6 separate regions of the Homo sapiens genome follow, and all the other regions are linked to region 4. The links are contacts of gene promoters, found by promoter capture Hi-C in blood cells and fetal thymus (Javierre and others, 2016). All regions are on one chromosome and are shown on one strand. The core of a region is centred on a gene start or on the middle of the fragment in contact, and the rest is flanking DNA. Distances in the headings are between cores, read along the strand shown.

Evidence for each region. The method cuts DNA at HindIII sites, captures the fragments that hold promoters and counts their contacts. A CHiCAGO score of 5 or more calls a contact.
Region 1: the fragment with the promoter of OR7E24 here is called in contact with the fragment with the promoter of ZNF121 in region 4 in 1 of 17 cell types (M2 macrophages); the score reaches 5.9 in M2 macrophages.
Region 2: a contact is called between the fragment with the promoter of OR7D2 here and the fragment with the promoter of ZNF121 in region 4, in 1 of 17 cell types (total CD8 T cells). The highest score is 6.0, in total CD8 T cells.
Region 3: a contact is called between a fragment that was not itself captured here and the fragment with the promoter of ZNF121 in region 4, in 5 of 17 cell types (M0 macrophages, naive B cells, total B cells and 2 more). The highest score is 6.6, in M0 macrophages.
Region 5: a contact is called between a fragment that was not itself captured here and the fragment with the promoter of ZNF121 in region 4, in 3 of 17 cell types (M0 macrophages, non-activated CD4 T cells and naive CD4 T cells). The highest score is 8.1, in M0 macrophages.
Region 6: a contact is called between a fragment that was not itself captured here and the fragment with the promoter of ZNF121 in region 4, in 8 of 17 cell types (M0 macrophages, naive B cells, endothelial precursors and 5 more). The highest score is 11.0, in M0 macrophages.

The regions. Positions count from the first base shown.
Region 1 is chr19:9,249,360-9,252,981 of GRCh38, forward strand. It overlaps OR7E24 (olfactory receptor family 7 subfamily E member 24), which reads left to right and starts at 1,571. Exons shown (of 1, transcript NM_001079935.2): 1 at 1,571-3,266. The coding sequence starts at 1,685. The coding sequence ends at 2,704. The HindIII fragment of the contact is 19,830 bases long and covers 1-3,622 here.
Region 2 is chr19:9,176,988-9,180,553 of GRCh38, forward strand. OR7D2 (olfactory receptor family 7 subfamily D member 2) reads left to right here and starts at 1,992. Exons shown (of 3, transcript NM_175883.4): 1 at 1,992-2,136. The HindIII fragment of the contact is 28,883 bases long and covers 1-3,566 here.
Region 3 is chr19:9,149,889-9,153,093 of GRCh38, forward strand. The region is part of intron 1 of ZNF317 (zinc finger protein 317); the gene reads left to right. Among named protein-coding and RNA genes, the nearest start is that of ZNF317, 11 kb to the left of the region's middle. The HindIII fragment of the contact is 1,338 bases long and covers 1,202-2,539 here.
Region 4 is chr19:9,583,164-9,586,672 of GRCh38, forward strand. It overlaps ZNF121 (zinc finger protein 121), which reads right to left and starts at 1,341. Exons shown (of 4, transcript NM_001008727.5): 1 at 1,298-1,341. RefSeq lists enhancers at 1-105, 920-1,731. The HindIII fragment of the contact is 737 bases long and covers 1,038-1,774 here.
Region 5 is chr19:9,197,819-9,201,270 of GRCh38, forward strand. No RefSeq gene overlaps it. Among named protein-coding and RNA genes, the nearest start is that of OR7D4, 20 kb to the right of the region's middle. The HindIII fragment of the contact is 2,921 bases long and covers 365-3,285 here.
Region 6 is chr19:9,130,105-9,133,326 of GRCh38, forward strand. No RefSeq gene overlaps it. Among named protein-coding and RNA genes, the nearest start is that of OR7G3, 4.8 kb to the left of the region's middle. The HindIII fragment of the contact is 4,665 bases long and covers 1-3,222 here.

The sequences.
Region 1 (3,622 bases), core at 321-2,820, 330 kb before region 4:
TCAGTGTGACTTCAACACACTCACTGCTTTCCTATCTGTACTTTCATTCCTTCCAGGAATGTGTCACAAACTAGGCAGAAGGTAAAATAGCACTTTTTTGTGTCTATATTATGGACACATAATAATAGCATCTACAACATTCAATTACTTAAAGACCATGGCAGAGATTTTTACAGGCATAAAAAAAGAGAAAAGGATGCAGAAGGAAGTGGGGGCAGGTAAACCTTATTGTTTAGATCAAGATACATTTTAGAGTTTCACATGATTCCAGCCACAACGAAAGTAATGCCAAAGTATTTTAACATTACCTTGGCCAGGCACAGTGGCTCACACCTGTAATCCCAGCACTTTGAAAGGCAGAGGTGGGCAGATTACTTGAGGTCAGAAGTTTGAGACCAGCCTGGCCAACATGGTGAAACTCCATCTCTACTAAAAATACAAAAATCAGCTGTGCATGGTGGGGCGTGCGCCTGTAGTCCCAGCTACTCGGGAAGCTGAGGCATAAGAATCGCTTGAACCCAGGAGGCGGAGGCTGCAGTGAGCTGAGATCATGCCACTGCATTCCAGCCTGGTGACAGGCTCAAAACTTCGAGACTCAGGTCTTAAAAAAAAAAATTAAAAGCATTTTAACATTATATTAATGTTCTGTCATCCACAGGTACGTTGCACACTATCAACATCTTTGCTATCAGTGATGTCCTGGTAATTATGTGCATTTAACTAAACCTTCCTTTTAATTACTTATTGATTTAATAGTCAAGGTCTCACTCTGCCACTCTGCCTAGAGTGCGGTGGTATGATCATGGTTCAGTGCAGCCTCGAACTCCAGGGCTCAAGCGATTCTCCTGACTCAGCCTCCTGAGTAGCTGGGACTACAGGGCGGCGCCACCATGCCTGTCTAATTTTTTAGTTTTTTGTAAAGATGGGGTTTTGCTGTGTTTTCCAGGCCGGTCTTAAACTCACATCCTCAAGCAATCCTCCTGCCTTGGCCTCCCAAAGTGCTAGGATTCCAGGTGTGAGCCACCACCCTGGGCTACTTTCTTATCAAAACTCCAAGTCCACCTAAGGCAAGGACAGGAATTATAATTAAGTGAATTTTAAAAGAAAGCCCACATATTTGAGTGAGTACTTACTTCCATGAAGAATGAAAGTCAGAAAACGTAAGAATGATGGAAACCGTAGAATATAACTGGTATGTAAAGATGTTTTCTGGCTATGAACTATGAACTTTCATTGAGTTTTGAGACAACATGATCCTAGATCTCATTGAGTGTTGATAAATATCCTCAATCAATGGAATTTGTAGAATTGTATTAGAATAAAACAAGACATAGCTGACTCCTTCTTAGTATCCTTTCAATGGATTTAATCTTTTTCTTAAAGGGGCAAGAATATTTTTGTTGTATATTTTTTCCTGATAAATTAGGCTATATTTTACCGTGATCATGGATTTCTAAAATCTCTAATGTTTTTGCTCTCCTAACATTCTTCAATAGACTGTCTCTAAGTTAAGTGTATACAGAAAGAGGTGAATAACACAAAATCAATTATGAAGTAACTCTAAGGAAATTGGGTTTGTCACAACTGAGAACTATTGCTGAGGGTGTATAATCCTATGTGAAAACTTAATTTCTTAATTGCTTGTATCCAAAATATAGACACAGTGCTAGATGCTGGTTTACTTATGTCCTATTTTCCAATTCTCTTTTTTTTTTTCCTCAAAAGGTGTCCGAGCTACACAGAGCCACAGAATCTCACAGGTGTCTCAGAATTCCTCCTCCTGGGACTCTCAGAGGATCCAGAACTGCAGCCGGTCCTCGCTGGGCTGTTCCTGTCCATGTACCTGGTCACGGTGCTGGGGAACCTGCTCATCATCCTGGCTGTCAGCTCTGACTCCCACCTCCACACCCCCATGTACTTCTTCCTCTCCAACCTGTCCTTGGCTGACATCGGTTTCACCTCCACCACGGTCCCCAAGATGATTGTGGACATGCAAACTCACAGCAGAGTCATCTCCTATGAAGGCTGCCTGACTCAGATGTCTTTTTTTGTCCTTTTTGCATGTATGGATGACATGCTCCTGAGTGTGATGGCCTATGACCGGTTTGTGGCCATCTGTCACCCCCTGCACTACCGAATCATCATGAACCCACGCCTCTGTGGCTTCTTAATCTTGTTGTCTTTTTTTATTAGTCTTTTGGACTCCCAGTTGCACAATTTGATTATGTTACAGCTCACCTGCTTCAAGGATGTGGACATTTCTAATTTCTTCTGTGACCCTTCTCAACTCCTCCACCTTAGGTGTTCCGACACCTTCATCAATGAAATGGTCATATATTTCATGGGTGCCATATTTGGCTGTCTCCCTATCTCAGGGATCCTTTTCTCTTACTATAAAATTGTTTCCCCCATTCTGAGAGTTCCAACATCAGATGGGAAGTATAAAGCCTTCTCCACCTGTGGCTCTCACCTGGCAGTTGTTTGCTTATTTTATGGAACAGGGCTTGTAGGGTACCTCAGTTCAGCTGTGTTACCATCCCCCAGGAAGAGTATGGTGGCTTCAGTGATGTACACTGTGGTCACCCCCATGCTGAACCCCTTCATCTACAGCCTGAGGAACAAGGACATTCAAAGTGCCCTGTGCAGGCTGCATGGCAGAATCATCAAATCTCATCATCTCCATCCTTTTTGTTATATGGGATAGAAATGGCAGCAAAATTTAACACCTAGGCCTGCAAATTCTGCCTCCTTGGTCACATTATTTTGGTTGCTTGATGGCTTTCATTCCTCTCTGGGTTTCGTATGTGAATATTGCTTGCTTTGTTTTGTCTTTAATTGCAATGGGTGAGTATTCTGGTATCCTTTGTTCATCATACACATCATGAATGATTCCAATATACCTAGACAGCCTCCTTTAGTATCTGTGCAATGACCTTGATATCCAGGTGCAATCACAATCTTTTCTGATAGACTTGAAATCCTCACTTAACTTTGTCAAGAGGTTTTTGGAAACTGCAACTTTAAAAAAAAAGCGCAGCAGGTCCTGAAATAAGTTCATTTTGTTCAATGTTGTTTAGTTTTAATTTTGGTGAGAAATGAATAAATTGGTTTCATGGTTCATCGTTTTGCTTGAATTGTGGTTTCTAATTTTCTGTGGAGGATGTTAAGTGAGGACTTATCGTACTTCGTATTTACCTCCCTTTCTACAGTTCCTGTGTAATTTCTGTCCAAATCGCATCTAGGAAATCACTTTAGGCAGCTTACGTATGATGATGTCTATCAATGGTCCTCACATTTGGTTTTATTGAAATCACCTGGGGACCTCACAAATACTGAGGCCTGGGTGTCATTACCAAAATTTACTTGGACCTGTGTGGGTTGAGGAATTTTAAAAGCACCAGAAATAGTTCAGGTGATGATGTTTCTAAAGGGACGGAGCTACAATGGGTAAGTTACAAAAGAATGTAGCACCAGGCAACGTGATTCATTCAAATATCTTCTTAAAACGCATTATTGTTCAGCACTGTAGAAATTTACATTATGGCCGGGCGCGGTGGCTCACACCTGTAATCCCAATACTTTGGGAGGCTGAGGTGGGCAGATCGCCTGAGGTCAGGAGTTG
Region 2 (3,566 bases), core at 742-3,241, 410 kb before region 4:
TGAGCATGGTGCCTCATGCCTATAATCCCAACACTTTGGGAGGCTGAGGCGGGAGGATCACTCAAGGCCAGGAATATGAGACCAGCCCGGCCAACATGGTGAAACCCCATCTCTACTAAAAATACAAAAATTAGCCGGACATGGTGGCGCACACGTGTAATCCCAGCTACTCGGGAGGCTGAGGCAGGAGAATCGCTTGAACCTCGGAGGTGGAAGTTGCATTCCAGCCTGGGCGACAAGAGTGAGGCTTTGTCTCAAAATAATAATATAAAAATAATAATAATAATAAATAGAAAAACAACAAAAAATAAAAAACAAATTAGCTAATTGGGAGACTGATGTGGGAGGATTGCTTGATCTCAGGTCTTTGGGATTGTAATGAGCTATGATTGTGCCACTGCACTCCAGCCTAGGTGACAGAGTAAGACCCTGACAAAAAAGAAGAAAGAAAAAAAAAGAGAGAGGAGAGAGAGAGAGAAAGAACATTCGGACACATATACAGCATACATGAACCTTGGCAATATTTCACTTAAATGAAATAAGTCAGTCACAAAAAGACAAACAGTGTATACTTCCGTCTATGAAGTAGGTACCACAGTCAGAATTATAGAGACAGAAAGTGGTATGGTGGTTCATTAGGGGCTGGGGAGGGTGAATGAGGGATGAGTGTTACGGGACAGAGTTTCAGCTTGGGGAGATGAGAAGATTCTGAATATGGAGGATAGTGATGGCTGCTGTGAATATACTTAATGCCACTGAATAGTACACTTAAAATGGTTAAGATGGTGAACTGTATGTTATGTATATTTTACCATCATTTTAAAAATTGAAAAAAACTTTTTTCTTATTGTTCAGTTCCTCCCAAACTTGCCATCAATGAAATTTTCCCCATCACTCTACCCAGATCGCTGTTTCTAATGTTTTCCATGCCATTAAATGTGATGGATATTCTTCAGCCTTTATTTTGCTTAGCCTTATAGCATCGTTTTACATGGTTGTTAGAAATAAATCTTGGAGTCATAAAGAAAAATGAGCACTCAAACAAAGGATTTCTCAGCAAAGCAAATTTACTTCTGCGCAGAAGGGTGCTTCTCGTAGGGTTGGCTGCTACAAGAGCACCCTGAACAAAGGAGAGTAGCAACTTTTATTCTTAATGCGACTCTTGACTTTGTGTGTCCTTTCCCCATTGGCTGGGGTCGGACAGCACAATCTAAACTAGACTTGATTGGTTACACATTTAAACTGTCTTAGATAAGGTGGGTGTGTGATGGGAGACAGAGGAGAGGAGGAAGGGGTCTTCTACAGAGGAATAGACAGCTAGTCTATTCTTAAATAAGGAAAGAAATGTGAGCTGGGGCTATGGCATATCTGGGCATGCAGCAAAATCAGAAAGAAGAAAAGGAGAAGAAAGTGTGTGGGGGGGGTACTTGGAATTAGAGAATAAGAAGCTGAGCAGGCTGTTTGAAGAGAAATCTTGCTGTATCTCGCAATGGTTGACTCTCCCTCTCTTGAAACAGGACTTACGACATGTCCACAGCCTGTTTAACGCCCTGCAGCCAACGCGATCACAGGGGATTCACGGAAATAGTTGCATCTCTATTTTCTTCTGTGTTACCTTGAGACCCTTAGGCACTGGGATTACAGAGAGATGGGTCTTTGTAGCTTCTGCGACACATTCCAGAGGGGAAAACCTCTTTATCTCAAAGCCAAACCAATAGTGATGAAAGCTCTTCCAAGAATAAAGAGGCCCCAAGAGGGTGGGAGGTGCAGAGAGAGTCACCTGGCTTCAGAGCTGCCTTCTTGGAAACAGAATTAGAACACATCATACCTTTCTGCCATTTGCTCTTGATCCCAAGGGAGCCGAATGGGTTGGAGAGTAGAACATCACTGGAACAGTGGATTTAATGAGGAAGGATGAGACATCAGCTCCCTGGGGCTTGAGAAACCATAAATACTTCCCTAAAACACCTCACCTGGACAGTTTCCTGACGCCACACTCATGCATCTTAGAGAGGAGAGTTAGGATGACTTCATGACAAGTTCCATCTCCCCGCCTTTCCCTGCTAGATTCTGTCTTCAGCATTCAACAGTCAGGGGAGGAAGACGTCATACCAGCATTTTTTTTTTTCAAGCAATGTCAGTTGAGTGACTCACACTATCCTTGTTAGTACCGTGTGTGAAAAGGATTTAAAAAGTAGTGTGGGGAGGAACAGAGATGGAGGTAACAGGGTTGATAATGTCTCATGATTTTTAAAATGTCTCTAGGATTCCCTTACCTGGTTATAGATGTCTTAAGGCATTGCAACTTTTGGGAGGCTGAGGCAGGCGGATCGCTTGAGGCCAGGAGTCTAAGACAAGCCTGGCCAACTTGGTGAAACCCCATCTCATCTAAAAATACAAAAATTAGCTGGGCATGGTGGCGGATGCCTGTAATCCCAGCTACTCGGGAGCCTGAGTCAGGAGAATGGCTTGAACCCGGGAGACAGAGGTTGCCATGAGCCAAGATCACGCCACTGCACTCCAGCCTGGGTGACAGAGTGAGTGAGACGCTGTCTCAAAAAAAAAAAAAGATTCTATTGCAACTGTTTCTGTCACCTCCACCTCTGATGGCCTTTCATTCTGGAAACTAGTGACTTTCTCAATGTCAGTAGGAACTGGCACTTCCTTGAGTGGATTCCTTTCAGTCTACCTGCTAACACCTTCCTTTTTCTTCTCTAGTATAATATAATAGTTCTCGGCCGGGTGCAGTGGCTCATGCCTATAATCCCAGAACTTTAGGAGGCCGAGGCGGGTGGATCACAAGGTCAAGAGATCGAGACCATCCTGGCCAACATGGTGAAACCCTGTCTCTACTAAAAATACAAAATTAGCCGGGCATGGTGGTGTGTGCCTGTAGTCCCAGCCATTTGGGAGGCTGAGGCAGGGGAATTTCTTGAACCTGGGAGGCAGAGGTTGCAGTGAGCTGAGATTGCACCATTGCACTTCAGCCTGGGCAACAAGAACAAAACTCCGTCTAAAAAAAAAAAAATCAACAAAGCAAAGCAAAACAAAACAAGTATGTATTAAATGTTCACTCTGCACCAGATGTTACATATATTATCATTGCAATTGTGAATGGACTTTTTTTCCTCTTATTTTTTCTCATGGCTGTTTGCAGATACATAAGAAAGCTGATGACACTGATTAGTTGTAATTAATTGTGTTTAAGTTGACTTTTTTTTTTTTTGAGACAGGGTCTTTCTGGGCTCAAGCAAACCTCCTGCCTTGGCCTCCCAAGTAGCTAATTTTTTAAAAATCTATTTTTGTAGAGGCAAGTGTCTCATTTTGTTGTCTAGGCTGGTCTCAAACTCCTGGCCTCAAGAATTTCTCCTGCCTTAGCCTCTCAAAGTGCTGGGATTACAGGCAGGAGTCACAGCACCCAGCCAGGCTGTTACATTTTATTAAATGAATTTTAGCTTATGTTAAAACCATGGTTTCTTTTTCTGCCTTGCTCTATTCACGCATATACTTTGTTATCTGACTTGCCGATATTAAATTTTTTACACTCTTAGGATAAATATTCATTA
Region 3 (3,205 bases), core at 621-3,120, 430 kb before region 4:
CGATGCCTTATGCCAAGGCAGTAGCAGTGTAGGTGGTGAGAAGCAACCAGATTTTTGTATTAAGTTTTAAAGTTAAGGCTGGCAGGATTTGCTGGTGATGCAGGTGTGGTTTATGGAAAAGAAAGAGGAGAGTTGAAGGTGATGACGAGCAAGGCTTTTGACTTGAGCCCCTGGGAGGCTGGAGCTGCCATCAACGTGGGGAGGCTGGTGGCAGCACAGTTGTAGGTGTTTAATGTGGGATCCTGTTGGCTGTTGCAGTAGGGATACTAAGTAGCCACCTGGCTGCCACTCACTCTGAGTCATTCTGGGTGGGGCAGGTGCCAGGGAGCGGAGAGTGGCACCCACTATAAATGAACAATTCTGTTAAGTAATTGTGAAATCGTCAGTGGTCATTTTATTTTAATGATAATGGCATTTTAGAGTGAATGTTTGTTTACTGAGCCTATAGAGTTCCATACATAACCCAGTGTTAAAGTCTTCAGTTTCCAGATGAGAAAACTGAGTTTTGATGAACTGACTCTTGGGAGGGGAATGAGCAGAACTGTGGGCTTGCATTAAAGGGGAGTCTACTGAGGCCTCAGGGACAGGGAGACCTTCACAGAAGTGCAATCAGAACCTGGGTGTCAGCACCTCCAAATGGTGGGGGTGTTTCACAATGTGGACCTGTGGGAGATGGGGGAGAGGGGCCCAGGGGAACCCTGACCTTTAGGGGCTGGGCAGAGGAGGGATCTCAAGCCAGAGTCTTCAAAAGAGCAACCAGAGATGTGAGCACAGACTGGGATGAGTGGGCTATGGCTGCAAGAGCAGTGGCATTCCCAGGAAGAGGGAGATAGATTCATAGTGAGCAAGATGATGTGTCAGGAGGTCAGGCAAAGGAAGGGTCAAGATGTAGTGTCAAGGAGTTCCCACATAGGGGACAGTACAGGTGACATAGGTCACTTTGAGAGGCAACAAGATGTGGCTCCGCAGTCACGTCAGCTGGGCTCACAACTTCCACCTATGACCTTGACCAAGTGTCTCGGACCCTTGGTGCCTTATTCTCTGGGTACTTGAGAATAATTCCGGGAGGTTGTGAGGATTAAATAGGAGTGGCCCTGGAAAGACTCAGGAGAATGTCTCATACCTTGTAAACACTACACATGTCGTTATTTGTAGAATTGGCATTAATGTTGGTGGGGAAAGGTGGAATGGGACCTGCAGAAGCTTGTTAGTTGAGCATGAATGAATGAATGGTAGGTGAGGATGGAGATACTGTGCCTCAGGAACTGAGCCTCTGTCACCCTCTCTCCCCTTCCTCAGCAGTGACTTAATGTCAGAACCCAAAGGCACAATGACTAGAAAAGGGCTTTGTAAAAAGAATGAAAGCGTCATGCATCTTTGAGTTGGCCCAAGATCAAATTTGGTGTTGAATAATGAATCCCCAAGGCAGAGTTTATACGTTAAAACACACTTCCTATATTATTGTTTTGAAATGTTTCTGAATATCTAAAACAATTCCAATAGCAGAAATACTAATTGATGTTGAAAAAGATTGTTATAACCCTGGTAATGTTTAAAAGTGGTAATATTGATTATTGATCTGAGTCAGATGTTAAAGTAGCAGCGTCACGGTTCTTACATCAGTGCTGTCATGAGAGTCGCGGTGGAAGCCAGAGAGAGGAGGCATGTTCATACAAAGCAAATTAAATCCCCTCCCGAGGTGTGGGCCACCATACCTCACCAATGTATTGTGGTTTTGATGTTATTTCCTTAATGACTGATGTTGTTAATCATCTTTTCATGTGTTTACAGTTCATTTCTGTAAATTTGGAGAAATGTCTGTTCTGTTCAAGTCTCCTGCCCACTTTTTTACTGGGTTGTCTTTGTTGTTGAGTTTATAATGATATTAAATCCCTATCACATACATGATTTGCAAATATTTTCCACCATTCTGTGTCTCATTCACTTTCTTGATAATGTCCTTGATGTTAATTCTAAATGTTTGGTAGGGTTCACCAGTGAAGCCCCTTGGTCCTGGACTTTTTTTTTTTTTTTTTGAGACGGAGTCTTGCTCTGTCGCCCAGGCTGGAGTGCAGTGGCGCAATCTCGGCTCACTGCAAGCTCCGCCTCCCAGGTTCACACCATTCTCCTGCCTCAGCCTCCCGAGTAGCTGGGACTACAGGCACTCATCACCACGCCTGGCTAATTTTTTGTATTTTTAGTAGAGATGGGGTTTTACCGTGTTAGCCAGGATGGTCTCGATCTCCTGACCTCCTGATCCACCCGCCTCGGCCTCCCAAAATGCTGGGATTACAGGCGTGAGCCACCGTGCCCAGCTGGTCCTGGACTTTTTATTTAATGGCTTTTGATGACTGCCTCAGTCTCTTGTTATAGGTCTCTCAATTTTCTTTTTCTTCTAGAGCCTGTTTGGGTATGTTTCAAGGAATTTGATACATCTAGAGCATTGATCCCCAAGCCCTGGGCCACAGACAGGTACCGGTCCCTGGCCTTTTAGGAACAAGGCCCTGCCGCAGGAGGTGAGCGGAGGGCAAGTGAGTGAAGCTTCATCTGTATTTACAGCGGCTCCCCATCACTCACATTACCCCTGAACTCCACCTCCTGTCAGATCATCAGCAGCATTAGATTCTCATAGGGGCGCAGACCCTATTGTGCACTGCACATGCAAGGGATCTAGATTGCACACTCCTTATGAAAATCTAATGCCTGATGATCTGTCAGTGTCTCCCATCACCTCCAGATGGGACCATCTAGTTTCAGGAAAACACTCTCAGGGCTTCCACTAATTCTATATTATGGTGAGTTGTATAATTATTTTACCATATATTACAATGTAATAATAATAGAAATAAAGTGCACAATAAATGTAATGCACTCAAGTCATCCCAAAACCATCCCCCCTCACCTCACCATCCATGGAAAAATTGTCTTCCATGACACCAGTCTCTGATGCCAAATTGGGTGGGGACTGCTAGTGTAGATGATCTAATGTGTTGGTGCATAATTGTTCATGGCATTCTCTTACAGCCCTTTGAATTTCCGTAAGGTCGGTAGTAATGTCCCACTTCCACTGATGATTTTAGTTACTTGCATCTTTTTTTGTTAGTAATTCTAGCTGTAGTTTTGTCACCTTTGTTGATCTTTTTGAAAGAACCAACTTTTGTTTTCATTAATTCTCCTATTCTCTATTTCATTTGTCTCTGCTTTA
Region 4 (3,509 bases), core at 91-2,590:
CTGAGATCGCGCCACTGCACTCCAGCCTGGGCGACAGAGCAAGACTCCGTCTGAAAAAAACAAACAAAAGCCTCCATCCTTTCTTCCTGTGGGCCCGTTTTGAAGCTCTGTGGGGGGGTACAGACCTAGGAACTTCAGATAAAGACAACAGCTGTGTATTATTGCCTTTCTTTCTTTTTTGAGACGGAGTTTCGCTCTCATCGCCCAGGCTGGAGTGCAGTGGCAGATCTCGGCTCACTGCAACCTCGGCCTCTCAGGTTCAAGCAATCCTCCTGCCTCAGCCTCCCAAGTAGCTAGGATTACAGGGGACTGCCACCAAGCCTGGCTTTTTTTTTTTTTTTTTTTTTTTTGTGTGTGTGAGACGGAGTCTCCCTCTTTTGCCCAGGCTGGAGTGCAGTGGCGCGATCTCGGCTCACTGCAAGCTCCGCCTCCCGGGTTCACGCCATTCTCCTGCCTCAGCCTCCCGAGTAGCTGGGACTACAGGCGCCCGCCATCGCGCCTGGCTAATTTTTTGTATTTTTAGTAGAGACAGGGTTTCACCATGTTGGCCAGGCTGGTCTCGAACTCCTGACCTCAGGTGATCTGCCCGCCTCGACCTCCCAAATGGCTGGGACTACAGGCGTGAGCCAGCGCGCCCAGCCTGCCTTTCTTTTGTAGAAAGGCTTGTAGCTGGTAACAACAAAAAACATTAAGTCCAAGAAAATAAAATAAGAAACTAAAGGCTCACAGTCTACACGTGTTCATATTTACATGCAGATATAGGCACACCCTAAACGACTATTTTTTTTCCATCAGAAAGTAATGTGTCAAAAATAAGAATAGGACATCAATGCCAGATTCTCAGACGAGACATTTTTAAGCAAAGAAATGGAAGTCAGAGCCCTCTTGAAACCAATTTTCTGCAGGTGTTCACCAGGAACATGCCGGAAACGCCAGGTTCCTGAGGCGCGGAAATGCGGGGCCGGAGCCAACCTGACTGGAACGGCAGAAATCCTTTTACTTTCAGAAAGAAAGAAACTCACAAAGGTTGCTTTCCAAGCTTTTGAAGAAGGGAGCACAGCGGATGAAACCACTCCAGAAAACGCGCGGAGTCGGGACAAACACACTTCCCGACCTGGCTCCTGACTGGGACCCACTGAGCCTGCGGCCTCTAGCCACTGGCCGCGCAAGGAGGACCGACAGCCCCTGGAGAAGAGAGTGAAACGAGGCGGATCGGAGAGGCTCCTGGGCGACAGCACCCAATCGTTCCTTTGCCGCCCCCCGCTATCTCCGGGATCCCCAAGCAGGCGGAACTCACCACAGCCAGGGTGGACTCCACCACGATAAAGGCGAAATGGCACTGACCATGCGGAGCCAGCGCCGGAAAAGATGGCGATTGTGCGCTGACGTCACTTCCGCTCCGAGCCTCGGGCCGGGCGGGGCTCCTGGGTTCGAGTTTCAGCCACATAGGACCCAGTCAAACACAGAAATTGTAGTTTCTTCCCGGGTGGGCGCGGACAGGCCCTTACTTGGGGGCGGTTTAGAGGTGGGACCCGGCTAGCCGGCGGTTCAGGTGGCCGGACCTGCTGGAAGGGCGGGCGTGGGGGATGGGACGCACCCCAGGGGATGCTCCTGCAGAGCTTTTCCCAGGTGGGCACAGTGGCTAAGGCCTGTAAGTCCAACACTTTGGGAGGCTAAGGCAGGTGGATAGCTTGAGTCCAAGAGTTCAAGACCAGCGTGGGCAAAATAGCAACATCCTTTATTAAAATATATATGTGTGTATACATATATATAAAGCTTGTTTGTATACATCTCATGTTCCTAGAGCCTTTCCATGATTCTTCCATATGGATAAAGCTGCCAGTGAATGGCATGGTCTATCTCTTCTATTCAGTCAGGCTTTCTGTAGGCCTTTATTTCTTCATTCTTTATTTTTTAGAACCTGCTGGTTCCATTGCGTTTTCTTTTTTCGTTTTTCTTTTTCATTTTTTATTTTTTTTTGAGACAGATCTCACTCTGTTGCCCAGGCTGGAGTGCAGTGGCATGACCTCGGCTCACTGTAACCTCTGCCCCCCGGGTTCAAGTGATTCTCCTGCCTCAACCTCCCGAGTAGCTGGGATTACAGATGTCTGCCTCCACGCCCAGCTAATTTTTGTACTTTTAGTAGAGAAGAGTTTCACCATGATGGCCAGACTGATCTCGAACTCCTGACCTCCAATGATCTGTCTCCCTCAGCTTCCCAAAGTGCTGGAATTATAGACATGAGCCACCGCACCCGGCCACGTTTTCAATATAATAATATTTTCTGTAAATCTTGATTTTTTTTTGTCTTCATCAAGTATGTATTTCTGGCTGGGTATGGTGGCTTATGCCTATAATCCCAGCAATTTGGGAGGCCAAGGGATCGTTTGAGGCCAGGAGTTTGAGACCAGCCTGGGCAATACAGCAAGACCCCGTCTCTGTTTAAAAAAAATTTTAAATATGTTTTTGTTTTTGTTTTGAGATGGAGTCTAGCTCTGTTGCCCAGGCTGGAGTGCAGTGGCACGATCTTGCTCACTGCAACCTCTGCCTCCCGGGTTCAAGCGATTCTTCTCTCTCAGCCTCCTGAGTAGCAGAGATTACAGGCAGGCGCCGCCATGCCCGGCTAATTTTTGTATTTTTAGTAAAGACAGGGTTTCACCATATTGGCCCAGTTGGTCTCGAACTCCTGACCTCATGATCCGCCTGCCTCACCTTTCCAAAGTGCTGGGATTACAGATGTGAGCCACCACGCCTGGCCAAAAACATGTATTTCTATTGTTATTTTTCTGATCTTCCCACATGGGCCAGGACCACATTTCCTACATTGTAAAATAGCACTGACACCAGACATTCTCCCCAGGTTTATTCAGAAATGTAACATAATCCCAGTAAAAATATTAAAAGTTTTTTCTGGAGTTAGGTACGTTGATACTAAAGTTTATGTGGAAGAATAAATATCTGATAATAACCAAGAAAACAAAAACAAAAGCAATGATGAGCAGCAGATGTTAAAACATACTATTAACAGTTTTCACACAAGGCAAATAATTAAATTATATTAAAATAAAAATAAATAAGACATACTATAAAGCCTCTATAATTAAAACTATGTGGTACTAGCACATGAAGCAGAAACAGACTAATAAAATATCTAAAAACAGACCCAAGAACATGTAGGAATTTGGTTCATAAATGTGGTATTTTGCCAGGCGCGGTGGCTCATACCTGTAATCCTAGCAATTTGGGAGGCTGAGGCGGGAGGATCACCTGAAGTCAGGAGTTCGAAACCAGCCTGTCCAACATGGTGAAACCCTGTCTCTAATAAAAATACAAAAATAAAATTAGCCAAGCATGGTGGTGGGCTTTCTGTAATCCCAGCTATTCGGGAGGCTGAGGCAGGAGAATCGCTGAAACCCAGAAGGCAGAGGTTGCAGTGAGCCGAGATCGCGCCACTGGACTCCAGCCTGGGCAACAAGAGTGAAAATCCATCTCAAAAAAAAAAAAAAAAG
Region 5 (3,452 bases), core at 575-3,074, 380 kb before region 4:
ACTCATAGAGTTGGAAAACAGAATGGTGGCCCCAAGGAGTGGGCGAGAGAGAGGAATGGAGAGTTTGTTGAATGGGCACAGTTTCCATTTTGAAAGATAAAAATGTTCTGGAGATGATGGTGGTGATGGTTGCTAAACAATACAAATGTACTTAATGTCATTAAACTGTAAACTTAAAAATAGTGGAAATTGTTTATATTGACCCTTCTATATAAAATAATATATATTTATACTTTTTAATATTTACACATGGTATATTTTACCACAATAAAAGATGAAAATTGAAGCATTTGGATCTTTACAAAGAAAAGAAAAAAGTGAATAATACACACAAGCTTTCTCCTGATTAGAGGAAGAGCCCAAAAGCTTCTATGGACACTCATTTTTCTCTTCTTCTTCCTGAATTATTATGAGGAAGTCCTTAGAGATTGGGGAACTTGGGCCAATTTGGCTAATGAGGAGCTCTGTGCCTTGAGCCCCCAAGGCCATAGCATAGTGAATACTCAGCCTGTGCCTCCAGCCCTGCAGTGTGAGCTTCCAGTCCAGTGGGCTCCACACCTGTCGTCTGCATCAGGAGGCTCATGTCTGACCCTGTCTTCCTGCCAGTCCTGAGGACGGAGCCTGAGCCTCCATCGTGCACCACGCAGGGAGGACAGCGGACCTGCTCTCCATGATCATGGCCCAGCAGAGGGGAAGCGCAGCTCAGTGAGTGCTGAGGGATGGTCGGGAGCCTTCTTTCCTCATCCTCAGGACAAACAGGACAGTGGAGTGGCAGATAGGAGGACATCAATGTGCAAAATATCAGCTCAGACAACTGTGGAGTTTATGTTCTTGATTGTGGTGGGGACTCTGAAATCTCACTCAAAGTTTTACTTTCTCCCTCCACTGGTTCTACTTGCTATAGACATCTCACTGAAGCTAGGAAAAAATAGGTCTCTCTAAGCTATTCCATGAACACTGTAAAAGGATTATGAAGCTGATGATGAGGATGAGGAGGAAGAGGACAGTCACTATGACATCATGAACTTTTCCTGAGGGCTTCCTGAATGCCAGGCGCCCAGTTCTGTGTTCTATGTGGTTTGTTTCATTTTATCTGCATAGCCTTCTGCAATCCATAAGTGCACACATTATTATTATTTTGCACGAGGAAAGGAGCTGTGCATTTTTATGTAACTTGTAGTATTTCATGAAGTAGAGAGGAGTAAAGCCATGTTTGAATCAGGCCATCTAAATCCTTGCACATGGCATTTGGCTAGGCCTCTTCCTGCATCCAACCTGCCCTCTCGAATCCCTGTCACTCTGGACCCCTGGTGTGCTCACTGCTTACCAGTGGGTTCCTGGTAGACCACAGCTAGACCAGTGGGTGCTACGTTCACTGTATCAAGTATAGAAAGGGCAGCTGAGATCACATCAAAGATCCCAGAAAGAACTGGCACAGGATCCTTCAGGGTGCATCTCTCCCTTGCCCCTGTTCCTGGCTTTCCTTGCAGCTCTCCACCTCCTGAAAGGAGAAATAAAATCAGAGTTTTGGCCTCATTCCTACTCAGGAATCTGGAAACAGTTTGAAAATGCACCTCCGATGTGCCTGTGGTTAAGACCTCTTACCTCTGCTTACAACTTTCTGATAGCTGGGAAACATAAAAAAGGTTCATGCCTGAGACTCAGAGACTGATCATTTATTAGGTTGGTGACAACAGTAATGGCAAAAACCTCAATTACTTTTGCATCAACCTATAATTTTTTTAAAATCCTGTTATTCCACTTATCTGTGTGGCAGGGGGCAAGATGTTAGTGTTTCTGAGACTCAACATTGCCACCTGAGTTGATTTCTAGTTGACACAGATACATTCAGTATTGATTAAGCAGATCATGGGGGCTCCCTGTGGGATCTATTTGTGATGGATGCATAAAGTAAAGGCAACGTGTATTCTAGAAATTGTTATTAATATTTTAAGATTAATCTTTATATCACTCAACTGAAATATCCTGTGACCTGAAGTTACTGTTTCTGTACTTCCCACAGGACATTTTATTTTTGTCCTTATATAATTAAGTACTGATTATTGTGACAGAAACAACTGAGTCTCTTTCATCTCTAATTCTCCAGAGTCTCTAACCTGCTTGACACAGAGGAGGCATCAGAAATAAAAATCTCTTTTAAGAGAAATGCAGGTCAGGCGCATTGGCTCATGCCTGTAATCCCAGCACTTTGGGAGGCTGAGGCGGGTGGATCACTTGAGGTCAGGAGTTTGAGACCAGCCTGGCCAACATGGTGAAACCCCATCTCTACTGAAAATACAAAAATTAGCTGGGCATGGTGGTGGGCACCTGTAATCCCAGCTACTCAGGAGGCTGAGGCAGGAGAATCACTTGAACCTGGGAGACAGAGGTTGCAGTGAACTGAGATCGTGCCTCTGCACTCCAGCCTGGGTGACAGAGCAAGACTCCATCTCAAAAAAAAAAAAAGAGAGAGAGAGAAATGCAAATCGAAACTACAAGGAGATATCATCTCACCCCATTTAGAATGGCTTTTATCAAAAAGTCAGGCAATAGCAAATGCTCACAAGGATGTGGAGAAAGGGGAACAATTGCACACTGTTGGTGGGAATGCAAGTTAGTCCATCCATTATGGAGAACGAGTTGGAGTTTCCTCAAAATACTACAAATAGAGCTACCATAAGATGCAGCAATTCCGGGCCAGGTGCGGTGGCTCATGCCTGTATTCTCAGCACTTTAGGAGGCCAAGGCGGGTGGATCACGAGGTCAGGAGATCGAGACCATCCTGGCTAACATGGTGAAACCCTGTCTCTACTAAAAATACAAAAAATTAGCCGAGCGTGGTGGCGGGCGCCGGTAGTCCCAGCTACTCGGAAGGCTGAGGAAGGAGAATCGCTTGACCTGGGAGGCGGAGGTTGCAGTGAGCCAAGGTCGCGCCACTGCACTCTAGCCTAGGCGACAGAGCGAGATTCCATCTCAAAACAAACAAACAAACAAAAGATACAGCAATTCCATTGCTAAGTATATACCCCCCCATAAGGGAATCCATATATTGAAGAGATATCTGCACTCCCATGTTTATTACAGCACTAGTCACAATAGCCATGATTTGGAAGCAGCTAAGCATTCACCATCCATTCAACATATGAATGGACAAAGAAATTGTGTACATGTGCACAATAGAGCATTATGCAGCCATAAAAAAGGAAGAGATCCTGTCATTTGCAACAACTTGGATGGAACTGGGGGCCATCAATTTAAATGAAATAAGCCAGGCACAGAAAGATAAGCTTCACGCGTTCTCACTTATTTGTGGGATCTAAAAATTAAAACAATGGAAATCATGGAGATAGAGAGTAGAAGGATGATTACCAGAGGCTGGGAAGGGGAGTGGGGGTGAGGGGAAAAGTGCAGGATGGTTAAGCAACACAAAAGTATAGTTAGAGACAATGAAT
Region 6 (3,222 bases), core at 220-2,719, 450 kb before region 4:
GCTTGAACCTGGGAGGTGCAGGTTGCAGTGAGCTGAGATCACGCCACTTCACTCCAGCTTGGGTGATAGAGTGAGACTCCATCTCAAAAAAAAAAAAAAAAAAAAAAAGAAGAAGAATGTCTTAGGGCTGAGCAAAGAAGGCATGTGCTCAAAATCCCACTGAGGGTTCTCCTAGTGTAATAAGGTACAGAAAAGAAAGAACTGGGCTTGACACAGTGGCTCAAGCCTGTAATCCCAGCACTTTGGAAGGCCGAGGTGGGAGGATCACTTGAGCCCAGGAGTTTGAGACCAGCCTGGGTTGTGTGTCTGTACTCTATCTAGCCTGGGTGACAGAGCAAGATGCTGTCTCAGAGAAAAGAAAAAGAAAAAAGAAAAAGCCAGGCGCAGTGGCTCGCGCCTGTAATCCTAGCATTTTGGGAGGTAGAGGCAGGCAGATCACTTCAGCCCAGGAGTTAGAGACCAGCCTGGGCAACATGGTGAAACCCCATCTCTACAAAAAATACAAAAACTAGTCAGGCATGGTGGCATGCACCTATAGTCCTAGCTACTCAGGAGGCTGAGGTAGGAGGATCACCTGAGCTCAGGAGGTCGAGGTTGTTGTGAGCCGTGATTGAGCCACTGTACTCCAGTCTGGGTGACAGAGTGAGATCCTGTCTCAAAATAAAGTAAGAAAGAAAGAAGCTAAACAAACATCAGTATGGGGATAGATACACAAATTATGGCACTATTATTACATGTAATAATAGTGTTAAACTAAGCATAGTGAATGCCCACCAATTTCAGAGAGTGGTGGTCCCCAGGAAGGGAAGGAGAGGAATAAAAACAAATCAAGAGGACTTCATGTTTAAGTGTTATACTTTATTGTTATTATTATTATATTTAGTATTTTAAATCTATTTTTAAAATTAAAAAAAATTTTTTTTTTTTGCAGAGATGAGCTCTTGCTATGTTGCCCAGGCTATGTTGCTATGTTGCCCATGCCTGTAAGCCCAAAGTGCTAGGATTACAGGCATGAACCACCACATCTGGCCTGTTTTGGGGTTTTAAAAGAGAAACCGAAAGACTGGAAATGTAAGTGAGTGGGTCTCAACTTCCTCTTCTGGAGTTTCTCACTGTCAAGAGATGGGGACAAGAGTCAAGTTATTTAAGGGTGAAATCTGGCAACAGACATGGTGAAGATTGAAAAGCCAGACACATCTCATCAAAGCCCCATCTGCAGTCAAAAGAATGAGGAAAACCATGGGGCCAGGCATGGTGGCTCATGTCTGTAATTCCAGCACTTTGGGAGGCCAAAGTGGGCGGATCACGAGGTCAAGAGATCAAGACCATCCTGGCCAACTTGGTGAAACCCCATCTCTACTAAAAATACAAAAGTTAGCCAGGCATGGTGGTGGGCGCCTGTAATCCCAGCTACTCAAAAGGCTGAGGCAGGAGAATCGCTGGAACCCAGGAGGCGGAGGTTGCAGTGAACTGAGATGGAGCCACTGCACTCCAGCCTGGTGACAGAGCGAGACTCCTTCTCAAAAAATAAAAAAAAGAATGTGGAAAACCAGAGAACTGTAGATTCCTTTTGTTTATTTGTTTGTTTTATGAGACAGAGTCTTGCTCTGTCACCAGGCTGGAATGCAGTGGTGCCATCTCAGCTCACTGCAACCTCTGCCTCCCGGGTTCAAGCGATTCTCCTGCCTCAGCCTCCTGAGTAGCTGGGATTACAGGTGCATGCCACCATGCCCGGCTAAATTTTTGTATTTTTAGTAGAGATGGGGTTTCACCATGTTGGCCAGGCTGGTCTTGAACTCCTGACCTCAGGTGATTGATCCGCCTTGGTTCCCAAAGTGCTGGGACTACATGCGTGAGCCACCGCACTTGGCCAGATTCCTTTTTGAAGGGACTAATTCATACTTAGGTAGGGAAGGAGTCCCTAGGATTTAGAAGACAGAATGAGAGCTGAAAATAATGAAATCTGATTATAAATTGTAAGAAAACAGGGGAAGTAAATATATCATGAAAAGGGTCACCGATTAGTTTGGAATCTCACTTATAACAATTCTGCTGAATTGTCTCTTACTTTATGGTTGTCCTCCAGATAAGATGGGAGAAAAAATAAAATAAAAAACTTGTTCAGTTTCTCACAGCATTTATTGGGAGCATTTCAGATTACCTTGAAGGCATCAGTAAGGAATTCTCCATTTTTTTTCTTGGAGAATTGTAAGATGAAATGGAAGATCTATCCCCAAGAAGGGCAGATGAACCAAGTAAGGCAACCCACTCTTGGGCAAGAGGGATCATCTCTGGAGCAAGACTCAGGTGTGATGTTTCCTAACATGAGCGGGGCTGTTGAGTGGAGTGGTCACCGGTAGATTATTTGCAGTCTCTGTGGCCCCTAGGAGCTCAATTTTCAAAGCTGCTCATTAGCTAGATGTGTACAGTACTGTCATTTCTTCCCCTAAGGCAGCTCAAATCCTTAATGAGCACAGGTCAGACGTGAGCACAAAGGGGGAATTCCTGGATGGTTGACTTTCTGACCCCAAGGGACAAGCTGTATGTCATTCTCTTCCAACCACATTTCCTCTTATCCCGAGGGTATCTCATTCTTGGATCCTAGGATCGGACCCCTAGGGAGCTGGTGGAATCCTCCTTAGACAGAATCCCAGCTTTCTCTGAGTCAGAAATTGCTTTTTTTTTTTTTTTTTTTTTTCAAACCAAGTCTCACTCTGCGCCCTGGCTGGAGTGCAGTGGCGTGATCTCAGCTCACTGCAACCTCCGCCTCCCAGGTTCAAGCGATTCTCCTGCCTCAGCCTCCTGAGTAGAGTAGCTAGGATTACAGGCACACACGACACCTGGCAAATTTTTATATTTTCAGTAGAGACGAGGTTTCACCATGTTGGCCATGCTGGTCTCAAACTCCTGACTTCAAGTGATCCACACACCTCGGCCTCCCAAAGTGCTGGAACTATAGGCACGAGCCACCGCACCTGGCATCAGGTATTTCTTTATACCAACACAATAATGGCCTAGTACAGTAAGTTTTTGGAAAAGAAATGGTGACATAATGTTGACAAAATGCAGATAAAGCCCAAACCCAGTCTGAAACAAATGAAGAACAAAACCTAAAGTTGATAGGGTATGAAATGGTGCAGTGATGGTGACAAAAAATGGGGCCTGTGTGGGTTTCTCTTTAAATATTGACCCTAAACTTGGGAAGACAAGGGGAAAAATGTC